Regions from separate parts of the Homo sapiens genome. Here regions 2, 3, 4 and 5 are each linked to region 1. Evidence: promoter capture Hi-C in 16 types of primary human blood cells and fetal thymus (Javierre and others, 2016). All regions are on one chromosome and are shown on one strand. The core of a region is centred on a gene start or on the middle of the fragment in contact, and the rest is flanking DNA. Distances in the headings are between cores, read along the strand shown. Region 1 holds the start of ZKSCAN7 (zinc finger with KRAB and SCAN domains 7). Region 2 overlaps KIF15 (kinesin family member 15). Region 3 overlaps TOPAZ1 (testis and ovary specific TOPAZ 1). Region 4 holds the start of KIAA1143. Region 5 has its middle 14 kb from the start of ZNF501.

What was found. Contacts are between HindIII fragments. The CHiCAGO score rates a contact against its expected background, and 5 or more counts as called.
Region 2: a fragment that was not itself captured here is called in contact with the fragment with the promoter of ZKSCAN7 in region 1 in 1 of 17 cell types (endothelial precursors); the score reaches 5.7 in endothelial precursors.
Region 3: a fragment that was not itself captured here is called in contact with the fragment with the promoter of ZKSCAN7 in region 1 in 1 of 17 cell types (megakaryocytes); the score reaches 5.8 in megakaryocytes.
Region 4: a contact is called between the fragment with the promoter of KIAA1143 here and the fragment with the promoter of ZKSCAN7 in region 1, in 9 of 17 cell types (erythroblasts, M1 macrophages, megakaryocytes and 6 more). The highest score is 9.3, in erythroblasts.
Region 5: a contact is called between a fragment that was not itself captured here and the fragment with the promoter of ZKSCAN7 in region 1, in 1 of 17 cell types (erythroblasts). The highest score is 5.1, in erythroblasts.

What each region holds. Positions count from the first base shown.
Region 1 is chr3:44,553,940-44,556,445 of GRCh38, forward strand. ZKSCAN7 (zinc finger with KRAB and SCAN domains 7) reads left to right here and starts at 1,254. Exons shown (of 6, transcript NM_001288590.2): 1 at 1,254-1,542. RefSeq lists silencers at 1,008-1,057, 1,168-1,307. The HindIII fragment of the contact is 2,808 bases long and covers 281-2,506 here.
Region 2 is chr3:44,796,123-44,798,628 of GRCh38, forward strand. It overlaps KIF15 (kinesin family member 15), which reads left to right. Exons shown (of 35, transcript NM_020242.3): 9 at 1,429-1,554; 10 at 1,712-1,834. Among named protein-coding and RNA genes, the nearest start is that of KIF15, 36 kb to the left of the region's middle. The HindIII fragment of the contact is 1,257 bases long and covers 625-1,881 here.
Region 3 is chr3:44,321,555-44,324,060 of GRCh38, forward strand. TOPAZ1 (testis and ovary specific TOPAZ 1) reads left to right here. Exons shown (of 20, transcript NM_001145030.2): 18 at 1,538-1,741. Among named protein-coding and RNA genes, the nearest start is that of TCAIM, 16 kb to the right of the region's middle. The HindIII fragment of the contact is 643 bases long and covers 934-1,576 here.
Region 4 is chr3:44,760,366-44,762,871 of GRCh38, forward strand. KIAA1143 reads right to left here and starts at 1,254. Exons shown (of 3, transcript NM_020696.4): 1 at 1,130-1,254. The coding sequence starts at 1,237. It overlaps KIF15 (kinesin family member 15), which reads left to right and starts at 1,429. Exons shown (of 35, transcript NM_020242.3): 1 at 1,429-1,519. The coding sequence starts at 1,501. RefSeq lists enhancers at 1-409, 1,200-1,479. The HindIII fragment of the contact is 21,704 bases long and covers 1-2,506 here.
Region 5 is chr3:44,742,320-44,744,825 of GRCh38, forward strand. No RefSeq gene overlaps it. Among named protein-coding and RNA genes, the nearest start is that of ZNF501, 14 kb to the left of the region's middle. The HindIII fragment of the contact is 4,209 bases long and covers 1-2,506 here.

The DNA of each region.
Region 1 (2,506 bases), core at 4-2,503:
CAGGTCTGAGAGCATTTAGCCTGGCCTTGGGAGATTTCCTCCTCAAGAATCCTAAGCTTCTGGGGCCTTGATTTGCCTTCCACCTCAAGAATCCTAAGCTTCTGAGGCCTTGATTTGCCAGTAGGCAATGTCTAGCATCAATGTCAGGCAGAGGCTGGGGTTCCTGGTTTTAAATAGCCAAAACCTCCTTGTGAGATTTCCAAATGGAGAGGGGGACCTTGATGACAGGAAACCACCATTAGGATCAATGGACAAAGATTGCTCCAAGAGATTACTTTTAAGCTTGTGGAAACTCTGGAGCAGGACTTCTGGTGTCTTTGTTTCTATCTTGGCTCACACAGATATATGAGGAACATATGTCAGGGCCAGGGTTAGGCCCAGGGCACCTTTGAAATATTGCCATCCCTAGACAGTCCAGGAGACTGTTTACTTTGGGCCCTGTAAAGGACCTATCTCCTGTGCTATAATAAAGATACACAGTTAACTTCATCACACCCTTTGCCCTTCACCCGTGGTCATTAACACACAGGGCCTGCTCAACCATGTTTGTAACAAGGACCAGTTCATATCCTCCTTCTGTATGCAAACCATTCTTCAAAGTGAAAGTCACCTGGGTACCACCTGCCACCCAGAGGCTAGACAACTGCCTACTAGGTTACAAACTGTCCCCACACCTTCTCAGTTTATCTGCTTCTTGGTCTCCCTAGGAACCTCTACATGGACACCAGAATGCTGGTGCTGTCTTACGAAATATTAACCACATTTATGGGCCAAAATATCACAATTTCTAGACATGCTTCTTCATTTTTAAGATGGGAGATGCTTGCTGCTCCCTTCACTGAGACTTCAGATTGGGCATCACACATGGTATAACTGACTGCTCAGGATATGCCAGGCCTTTTGCTATGTAGTGTCTGTTAACCTCATGCGGTGCTCCCAGCCCTGTGAGGTACGCATTATGCTCTGCATTTTTTTCAGATGAGAAAACAGGCTTGGAGGTTGGGTATCTTTCCCAAGGACACCTGGAGGAGAAGGTGTAGAGCTGGGACGCGTCTGGATCCCCCGACTATGGCCTGAGAGCGGGATGTGAGTGGCCTGGGCCCTCGCGAGACCCCGACCCCGCCCGCGGCAGGTGGCCGGGCACAGCCGAGAAGTAAGCCCTGCCAGCTCTCCCGGGTGCGGGGACGCGCGCGCCCACCTTCGCAAACGAGACTTCCGGGATCCCGGAGGGGGCGGAAGTCGAGGCCTCTCTCGCTTCCGGCTCGGCCATTGTTTTTGGTCTAACGGGCAGTAGAGTGTCCGGCTTCGGTGCCGAGTGCCACCGCGAGTGGGCCGAGACGCGGAGGGAGGCGCGGCCGGAGCTCGGGTCGCCGACGCTGGCCAGGACCGCGCTTCTTCCCGGCGGCAGGCGGCGCGGTCCCCGTGACTCTCAGAAGCCGCCCGATGTAGAGCCGCTTCTTTGTCTCATACCCCTGACCATTCGTGCGTGGCACGGAGCCGGGTATCTGCGGGTACAGCGATGAACAGGGCAGACGTGGCCAGGTGAGCGGCGCTGCTGAAGCCTGGTTTAACACGAAAGGTAGATCGCTGTTTTCCCAGCTCTTGCAGTAGGAAACTGTATGAACTGTCATATTTGGGTCAGACCCAGGCTCAGAATCGCAAACGTGGAGCGTGACTTGGAAATGCAAAAATCCAATTGAGATTTTAAAGTGCTGAGCATTCGGAACACTATGGGAAGCAGGAGAATGGCCTGAACTTTCTACATATATGGGATCTTAGAGCAGAGTTTACAGATTATTTTAAAGTCCTTCTTTGTCTTTTTAAAGAGATTGAGACACAGGGATCTGGGCTCTTGGTGAACTGGAAGCACAGCACAGATGCCCTAGTTACCAGTAAGGTGCTGATTTTAAAACGTTCAAAGTTTTCCTCCACTTCAGTGTCAGCTAAATGTATCATATTCATTCATTTCCCAATTATGTGTGCCATGTGCACACGTGTACAAAGATGACTGGAAGTCAGCTCTGCCCTTTGTATCCTCCCAGAAAGCAGGGGAGACAGTCGTGTAAACCACAAACGATTACAGTGTGAGATGTGCTCTACTAGAGGTTTGAATGAAAAAGGTAGTTTGGGATCACTGAGACAATAACCACCTCTCTAAGCCTAGCGTGATCAGGAAGGCTTTCTAGGGGAGGTGCATTGAGTAAAAAAAGGTCTAGTATTTTCTGATTCCATTTGGTTCCTTTCCTTTGGTGGCCGTGCAGCAGTTTGGAGGGTGAGAGTGGTGAGTTGTGCATAAACCAGTTAAAGGGTTATAGTGAGAGGTACACAAAGGGAAGCTACCAGCACTCTTCCTGATGGGGCAATCAGGAAAACCAAGAAAAAGTTGCCTTTGTTCATGGTCTTGACAGACAAGTTTGCCAAAAGTTGAAGAAGAAAAATTCAAAGAAAGAGTATGTGTGGCTTCTAAGTGTGTCTCTAGAGCTTTAGCTCCAAACTTTCTTTATTT
Region 2 (2,506 bases), core at 3-2,502, 240 kb after region 1:
AAAGTGTTGGGATTACAGGCGTTAGCCACCACGCCCAGCCTAAAGCTCATATTTCTATTGAGATATGAGGCTTAATAAATATAGCATATGGGTTGAGCATGGTGGCTTATGCCTGTAATCCTAGCACCTGGGAGGCTGAGGTGGGAGGATCCCTCGAACCCAGGAGGTCGAGATTGCAGTGAGCTGTGATTGTGCCACTGTGCTCCAACCTGGGTGACAGAGTGAGACTCTGTGTCAAAAAAAGCATATGCTTATAATAGGACATATACCAAGTCTGTTCTAAAATGCTTTACATATATTAATTCATTTAACCTTCCCAACAACTCTGGGAAGTAGGTGCTATTCTTTCTATTTTACAGTTAAAGAAACCGAAGTCACACAGCTAATAAAGGTAGAGCTGAGATTCAAACCGAGCTGCTACAGTACTCTCAACCATGCCACTAACCACCTTTCTGATTTACTGAATGATAACAGCAGTGACTCTGAATTCAGTACATCTTGCATTATAATTTTGACTTTTTCTCTTTTTTGTATACTCCTTCCACTGCAGACCCAGTTTTCAAAATATGCTACCTACAGTAAAAATCTAATGTAACGTATTTAGCTCATTTTTTCCCCCCACCAAGCTTCTGTTTTAAAGTAGTTTTTATTATCCTTTACAGAATTAAACTGAATATTCTCCTCAAATAAGTTCATCAGTGGCTTTGGGGGCTGTATGGGTGAGTTATTAGGCATTATACCCTTAAATATTTTAGCATAAAAGGATTGAAAAAAGTACCTATTAATGCACTACTCTAGCTTTTTTTTCCCTATTTTTTTCTGGTCTTTATAGCTCGGTTTCAAACTATTACAATCATGAAGTGACATTAATATTTTTTTTCTTTGCATGATTTTTGTGTTTGTCTTTTTTTGTTGTTGTTTTTGAGAGAGGGTCTCACTCTGTCACCCAGGTTGTAGTGCAATGGCACAATCTCAGCTCACTGCAACCTCCACCTCCCAAGCTCAAGTGATCCTCCCACCTCAGCCTCCCAAGTAGCTGGGACTACAGGCATGTGCCACCATGCCCAGCAGTTTTTTGTATTTCTTTGTAGAGATGGGGTTTTGCCATGTTGCCCAGGCTGGTATCCAACTCCTGAGCTCAAGCAACCTGCCCACCTCGGCCTCCCAAAGTGCTGGGATGACTAGCATGAGCCACAGTGCCAGCCTGTGTTTGTCTTCTAATACTAAAATTACAGTGTACATCAAATAGGAAAAGGTTAGGGATAGTTCAGCACTTCTTTTTTATTTGTTGAATAGTTGTTCTTTATTAACATTGTCCCTGACTTGCCTTTTCATCCAGAATTTTCCTCTGCTAGATATATTTTCATTCAAAATACCAAAGAGTAACCAACGTACCTAAATTTTTGTTCTTTTCCGTCAACACTTTAGGAAGCAGGTAACATAAATCGATCATTGAGCTGCCTGGGCCAAGTGATTACAGCACTTGTCGACGTGGGTAATGGAAAACAGAGACATGTTTGCTACAGAGACTCCAAACTTACCTTCTTACTACGGGTAAAGTAGATCCTTGGGTTCCTGGGCTCCTTTTGGTTATGCTAAAGTTGATAGTGGGACAGTCTCTCAGCCTTGGTGGCAAGAGTATACATTTTCTTTGCTTAAAAAGGTCTTGTGATTTCTCACCGAAAATATGTTCATTCCTATCATTAAACAGGATTCCCTTGGAGGTAATGCCAAAACAGCCATAATTGCAAATGTTCATCCTGGATCCAGGTGTTTTGGGGAAACCCTATCAACACTTAACTTTGCTCAAAGAGCCAAGCTGATTAAAAACAAGGTAAAATACTGGCGTATACTTCATTAAATAAATGAGAAAAATACTAAAGCTTACAGTATGCCATTTTTGTGATTGCCCTAATATTAACATTAACTTTTATTTATTTCTCATTGTATGCAAAATTTCTATTTTATCTTTCCTACCCTTCTATATCACACATGTAATTAGAGACCTAGGTTAGATCTTATGGTTGTTATTGCTTGACTAGTTTTTTCTTTTTTTTTGAGACACAGTCTTGCTGTGTCACCCAGGCTGGAGTGCAGTGGTGCAAACACAGCTCACTCTAGCCTCAACTTCCTGGGCTCAAGCGATCCTCCTGCCTCAGCCTCCTGTGTAGCTGGAACTACAGGCATGCAGCACCATGCCAGGCTAATTTTTTTATTTTTTTAATTTTTATTTTATTTATTTTTTATTTATTTATTTTTTTGAGACAGAGTCTTGCTCTGTCACCCAGGCTAGAGTGCAGTGGTGCGATCTCTGCTCAGCTGGGACTACAGGCGCCCACCACCACGCCCGGCTAATTTTTTGTATTTTTTAGTAGAGACGGGATTTCACCGTGTTAGCCAGGATGATCTCGATCTCCTGACCTCGTGATCCGTCTGCCTTGGCCTTAATTTTTTTATTTTTTGTACAGGTAGGATCTCACTTTGTTGCCCAGGCTCGTCTCAAACT
Region 3 (2,506 bases), core at 5-2,504, 230 kb before region 1:
AAACTTGAAAGAAATGGAGGAAGTGAAACAGATGCCAAGTTCAAACGCCAATGTGGGAAATGGTAGTCAGTACTCTTGAATGTTGGGTGTCCATGAGCAAAAGCTTTGGGTCAAGAATGAGCTATGTGATAGGTTCAGAGGATGACGAAAACGTTAACCTGAGGGCCTCCCCTCAGTACTTTCATCGTACTATCTATAAATTTTCATTTTTCCACTTAATTCCACTGTGCTCCTGTATTGTAATGAGCATTCTTATCTGTTTCTCCTTATACAAAGTGAGCTCAATCAGGATGGTACTATTTTCTTTACCTTGGTATTCCTGGCCCAATGGCTGCTATCTAGCAATCTCTTAATATACAATTAGTTGGTAATGAAACAAAGTAGTAATAGGGAGATTGGACAGATAGTTGTGCCAGATTTTGGAAGACCCTAAATGTCAGGCTAAAGGAATTTTCTTCTCTGTGTATAAAAAGGGATCACTAGAGTTTTGGGTCTAGGGAGTGATATAATGAAATTGGTGTTTCAGGAAAGTTCCTCTGGCAGTAGTGTTTAGGAAAAGACTAAAAGTAGAGAGATTAATTTCCTGATAAGTCCTGGATAACTAAAAGATTCTAAAGCAGTAAGGAACTACAGTCTAGCTCACAGACCCAACTGACTGAATATAGGGAATAAAAGAGAAGTCTCTAAGATGACTTCTCTTTCTTCTAAGAATAACTGAAGGAATAGAAAATCCATTAAAGGATTGTTTTAAATTTGGCAGTAAATATTTATTAGGGGATGATTTGTTTTTAGTCAAGGGATATATAAGGCTAAGGTCTGAACTGTAGATATAATACAAACAGAATTGAGAAATTATTCAAGACACTACAGATACACAGTTACATGTGGGAATCAAATACAGAGGTCTTAATGCATCCTCTGAAATTTTTGTCAAGCTTCTTTTTATCTTCTCTATTGCAAAGGAAGTTAATGGTTTTTCTTTTGTCAAATGCTTTTTCGTTTCTGACTTAGAGAATATGTAAGATAGGTTGGGCGCGGTGGCTCATGCCTGTAATCCCAGCACTTTGGGAGGCTGAGGCAGGCAGTTCACTTGAGCCCAGGAATTTGAGATCAGACGATATGGGCGTGTTCAGGGTGGTATGGCCATAGATGAGCCCAGGAATTCGAAACTAGTCTGGGCAACATGGTGAAACCCTGCCTCTGCAAAAAAACATAAAAATTAGCCAGGCCTGGTGGACCTGTAGTCCAAGCTACTTAGGAGGCTGAGGCGAGAGGATGACTTGAGCCCAGGAGGTGAAGGTTGCAGTGAGCCAAGATCATGCCACTGCACTCCAGCCTGGCTGACAGAGTGAGACCCTGTCTCAAAAAAGGAGAAGAAAAATAAAGAGAATATATAAAATGATTGCATTTTAGTGACTGTGAGTCCTATAATGGGTAAGAAAGGGTGAAGGGGAGGAGAAAGAAAAAGGAGTATGAGATGGAGGTTTGAGACACTTTAATATAAATGAATTTTATTATATCATTTTTTTTATTCCAGAAACTGTGGAAGTCTCACAATATAGCCTTCTTTTTAATAAGCTTCTAGGTTCCTGTATAGAAAGCAGTAGTCTTGGTATGTCATCCTCTGTGGCAGAATTCATGATTTCAAAGAGCATCCCTATTGATTTTTCCTTTCTCAGAAGATTAATTACTTCTTTAGGAAGGAGTCGTTTATGGCTCAAAGCCAGAGCCCACTACAAAAGTAAGTTACATTTAAAATGTTTTAATATATTGGTTTATAATTGTATTCTCTAACCCAGAATTTATAATATATAAGATTAGATATTTATATGTATTAAAAGAGCAGTAATACATATTCAAATGTAGTGGTCTCAACAGATCTGTGCTCTCTTTTGAAACCTATTGTTTCTCTTCTGTTTCCAGTTGCTTTCCTTATTTCCAATGTTTGCAATTTCCAATCTTTATTTCTTGCACAGTAGCCTGTCCGCTAGAGGGCGAGCAAAGGGAACAAATGACAGGATAGAACCAGTTTGGCATATCTTATAAATAATGCAAGCATAAAACAAGTGGGTAGAATGAAGTTTAAAGAAGATCTGTTTTTATTTATCTCTGCTATATCCCTAATTGTTATAACTAAAAATATTCAATAGCAGGTCACATCAGAAGCATAAAGGCTGTCATAACAATGCAACATAGTATATGTTTTTCACATGGCTTTTAGTAATAGAACTTTGTTAATCTACTTACAGCTGTTGTTCTCTAACAAATAAGCCTGGAAAACTAGTGCTTTCTCTAGTCCAAGCCACCTCGCAGGTATTTTAATTAGAAAGTAATTCCATGTACGTTCTAGATCTAGAAAAGCATTGTTTTTTCTGCCTTCATGCAGTAATTTGTCTTCAGCTACCATTTCTACCACTATCATGTATATAACAAATATTTGAGTGCCTACTCTGTGTCACCCCGTACCAAATGTGTCAAATATCCTAGCCACTACTACCTGAGCTGG
Region 4 (2,506 bases), core at 4-2,503, 210 kb after region 1:
TATTTACGGCTTCTGCTTACTCTTCTTTTTTTTCTTTTTTTTGAGACGGAGTCTCGCTCTGTCGCCCAGTCTGGAGTGCAGTGGCGCGATCTCGGCTCACTGCAAGCTCCTCCTCCTGGGTTCACGCCATTCTCCTGCCTCAGCCTCCCGAGTAGCTGGGACTACAGGCGCCCGCCACCATGCCTGGCTAATTTTTTGTATTTTTAGTAGAGACGCGGTTTCACTGTTTTAGCCAGGATGGTCTCGATCTCCTGACCTCGTGATCTGCCGCCTCAGCCTCCCAGAGCGCTGGGATTACAGGCGTGAGCCACCAGGCCCGGCTTTTTTTTTTTTTTTTTGAGACGGAGTCTCGCTCTGTTGTCCAGGCTGGAGTGCAGCTGCGCCATCTCAACTCACTGCAACGTCCACCTCCCGGGTTCGAGCGATTCTGTCTCAGCCTCCGGAGTAGCTGGGACTACAGGCATGTGCCACCATGCCCGGCTAATTTTTGTATTTTTAGCAGAGACGGGGGGTTTCACCATATTGGCTATTGGCTCTGCTGGTCTCGAACTCCTGACCTCAGGTGATCCGCCCACCTAGGCCTCCCAAAGTACTGGGATTACAGGCGTGAGCCACTGTGCCCGACCTTCTCTATATTATTTTTATTTATTTTTAATTAACAAAGCATAGAAACAGATTCAGGACATTCCTCCGAAGACGTTCCAGACTCGAGTCCTAGGACATGGTTGGGGCGGGGGTCATTTGATCGAGTGGCCTGTGTCCTTATCTGGAATACGGGACGACGCTGTAACTCTAACTCACCCTGCGAACTCACAGCTTTTGAGGTAAACAAGTGAGAAAGAAGAGACAATAAAGTGATCTTTCTTTACCATCTACCAAGGACCAGGTGGTTTACACGTCAGTTCATTTTCAGGAACACAGCAGCGCTCTGAAAACTACAGAGCTTCCTGGGCGTAGGGGGCTGTGGTCGCTTGAAAAGAACCAGCCTGGGGGTCCGAGTTCCACCGGAATTGGGTTCGAGCGCGGGTGAAAAGAGGGACCCGACAGCACCCACCCTCCAAGTAGAGGCAAAAGTTGAAAGTGGCGGGCTGGCTGCGCTTCCGAAGAAACACGACTGGCGAAGGCTCACCTTAGTCTCTACGGTGGGTCCCTCCCTGTAGCCGACCCGTTCCTTGAAGCGGGCCAGAAACGCCGGCTCGGCTGGCCGCACGTACGATACCTGGTTCCGCTTGCTCATGGTAGCTCTGGGTAAAGACAGAAGACAGGTTCCGCGACGGATTCGCGACGATACAGAGGCGCTTAGCTGTGACGTCACTGGGCCACGCCCCCGATGCGTAGGCCGGGCAACATGGCGGCCTCCATGCGGGCGTCAACGTCCGATCCAAGCGCCAAATTCAAATTTGCGGCCATCTTGAGCGGGCGGAATTCAGTCGCGCGCGGTGCAGTCGGGAGGTGGAGGCACCGGCTGCATTGTTTTCGGGATCGAGGGGTGAGGGCGCTATGGCACCCGGCTGCAAAAGTAAGTCTGGGCCCCCGGCTTCGTTACCCTATTTTTGCCCCCAAATACAGCTGTGAAAGGATGGCAGCCTCGGACCGCCCGCAAGGTTCTTGCTAGGCATGAACTGCAGGAGCTGAGTGACCGGCGGGGACGTTTGGGAATCCCGCTCTGTCGCTCAAAGACAATACGCTAGCCGAAAAGCTCATCCCTTCCTTCAGTGTCCTGTGCGCATGCCAGGAGTCTGGCGCAGTTCTAGGCGCTCGGGATGAGCAGTGGACCTGACGTTCTTCCCTTTCTTTCCCTTGGTTCTGCTGTTTCTTCGCAGGCCTCTTCCCACATCCCGACCAGGGCTACCTCTCTAGATATCCTTGTCTCAGGATCGGCTTTTGCTCCCACCAGCTTCTGCGTATTTCTACATTTCTGACCTTCCTATAGGGAAGGGTTTATTTATATTCCAAACATTTCTTTCTCCTCTTTCCTTAAATAAATGGAATGTTAAAACACAGATGTCAGCAATGTCTTTATGTTCTCACAGTCTCTATTTTCACTTAAAGGAGACCCGTCCGATTTCTTTCTCTTTTTCACGGAGGAGAGCACTGTCATTTTGCTTATGATAAACCCTACAGTTTTCACTAACGTAGTCATTTGCTGTGCCTGTGTACGTGCTCCACTTCTCACATTGCCACATCTCTTAAGGAGTCTTATTTTTGTAAACCTGATTATGAGCTGATTTAATGGGATCTTTGTGAGTGGTCTGAATGGTAATGAGGAGAGGCCTGGATTAGATGATTAAGAATTTGTGAACTTCTGTCATTTGAGCTTTCCAACGCCGTTAATGTTTCTAGCTTTCTGTCAATTGTAGTCGTTTTTGATGGGTTTGTTGTTTCATTAATCTTTTAGGTCGATCACACCTAATCGGAACACCTCCTTATGCTACCTTTTTGCATATAAAATATTCCTTTTCCTTTCATCATTTTCAGTATTCAAGGACTATGAGCTCACAAAATG
Region 5 (2,506 bases), core at 3-2,502, 190 kb after region 1:
TCTGGGGGAGAGAGCAGGCCCAGGAGTGGGGAAAGGGCCACAGAAACAGGCGCCTGGAAACTCAGACATGTGTCTTCCTTCCCAATGTGACTGTCTGGCCCTGGTTGTCTTGAGCCATCCAGCCAGATATGACTGTATGTTGTGCTGTTTTGTGTCAAACATCAGAACACCTCTGACCTTTACAAAGTGGGAGGGAATCCCTTGTGGGCTGCAGGACTCCTAACAATTAAAAAAAAAAAATCCCACTAATACCTAGAACTGCGCTAACACAGTAGCTACGACCCATTTGTGGCTATTTAAATTTAAATAATTAAGTAGAAGGAAAAATTCAGTTCCTTGGTTGCTCTAGCCACATTTCAAGTGCTTAATAGCCATAGGTGGCTAGGGCAGAATGTTCTATTGGACAACACTTGGACTTGATGTTTGGAAGTCCCAGACAGTAAATTTCAACATATTTTTTGGACGCTGGTATAGATTTTTCAACCTTTTGGCAAAGTAAGTACAATAAACTACCACCTGTCAAAATCATTATTTCATAAAATAAAGTATATTTTAACTTCAAAGAAACAAGAAAGATATAATCTCAGAATAAAGGACTCGTTCAGAAGAGAGGATAATTTGACACCTTTACACTGACCCTTTTGACCCCAGACAAGCCCTGGAGTCTGTATTGGCATTTATGTGCCATTGCCATACCCTAGGATTCTGGCCTCTTTAGTACTGGACATCGGTTGCCCTTGTGCCCTATCCTTGAAAAGGACATCAGGAAGGCCCTAGCAGGATCTTCGTGGCCTTTGGGAGTGAGGTGTCCTTCTCAGTGCATATCAGTAGGTCATGATGTCAGTATGACATTTTTTTTTTTTTTTTGAGACGGACTGTTGCTCTTGTTGCCCAGGCTGGAATGCAAAGGCTCATCGCAACCTCTGCCTCCCAGGTTCAAGCGATTCTCCTGCCTCAGCCTCCCAAGTAGCTGGGATTACAGGCATGTGCCACCATGCCCGGCTAATTTTGTATTTTTAGTAGAGATGGGGTTTCTCCATGTTGGTCAGGCTGGTCTCAAACTCCCGACCTCAGGTGATCCACCTGCCTTGGCCTCCCAAAGTGCTGGGATTACAGGCGTGAGTCTGGCATCAGTATGACTTATTACTGGTAATATTAACTTTGATCAGGCAGTTAAGGTGACATTTGCCTAGTTTCTCCACTGTAATGTTACTAGCTTTTCTTTCTTCTTTTCTTTTCTTTTTTTTTTTTTTGAGACAGAGTCTCACTCTGTCCCCCAAGCTGGAGTGCAGTGGTGCAGTCTTGGATCACTGCAAGCTCCACCTCCCGGGTTCACGCCATTCTCCTGCCTCAGCCTCCCAAGTAGCTGGGACTACAGGCGCCCGCCACCACGCCCGGCTAATTTTTTGTATTTTTAGTAGAGATGGGGTTTCACCATTCACAGGATGGTCTCGATCTCCTGACCTTGTGATCCGCCCGCCTCAGCCTCCCAAAGTGCTGGGATTACAGGCATGAGCCATCACGCCTGGTCACTAGTTTTTCTTTTGTAATTAGTGTCTTGTGGGGAGATACTTTGAGACTGTGAAAATACTCTGGTTTTGAGCATAATTTTGGCCACTAATTTTGGCATCCTTTGATGAGTCTTTCCAACAGCACTTGTGTATTAGTTTCCTATGGCCGCTATAAAAAATTATCACAAACTTGGTGGCTTAGAACAACAGAAATTTATTCTCTCAGAATTCTGGATGCCAGAAGTTTCAAATCAGCTACTCTGCTCAAATCAAGATGTTGGCAGGGCCATGTTCTCTCCAAAGGCTTTAGGGGAGAATCCATTGCTTGTCTCTTCCAGCTTCTGGTGCAGCCAGTATTCCTCAGCTTATAGCCACATCACTCCAGTCTCTGCCTCCATCTTCACATTTCCTATTGTGCCTAATCTCCCTCTATCTGTCGTTTATAAGGAAAGGTGTGAGTGTAATGGCATTTAGGACCCACTTATATAATCCAGGATAATCCACTTATCTCAAGATTGTTAATTTAATCACTTTTGCAAAAACTACCACGTAAGTTACCATTCACAAGTTCCAGGATCAAGACCCGTTGTCTTTAGGGACCATCATTCAGCCCGCTAAATTTTTTTACTGTGGAATTTGCCAAATACTGTTTCTATTTCCATAATTCCTCCTAACTTTATTAAAATTCTACTATAAGGAAGACCTAGCCCTTCTCATGTGTTCAAAATATATATATATTGTTTATATCAATAAGAATTTTATGAGTTGTTATCTACTATCATTAATTCCTTGTTCAAATTGCCCCAGATTTGGCCATTGGTAACTCCTGCTAGTTGGCTCCTGTATCCTTTTGACATGCCTTCATCATTTTTATATTTTTGAGACAGGATTTCATTCTGTCTCCCAGACTGGACTGCAGTGTTGTGATCACAGCTCACTGCAGCCTCAACCTCCTGGGATCAAGCAATCCTCCCACCTTAGCCTCCCAAGTAGCA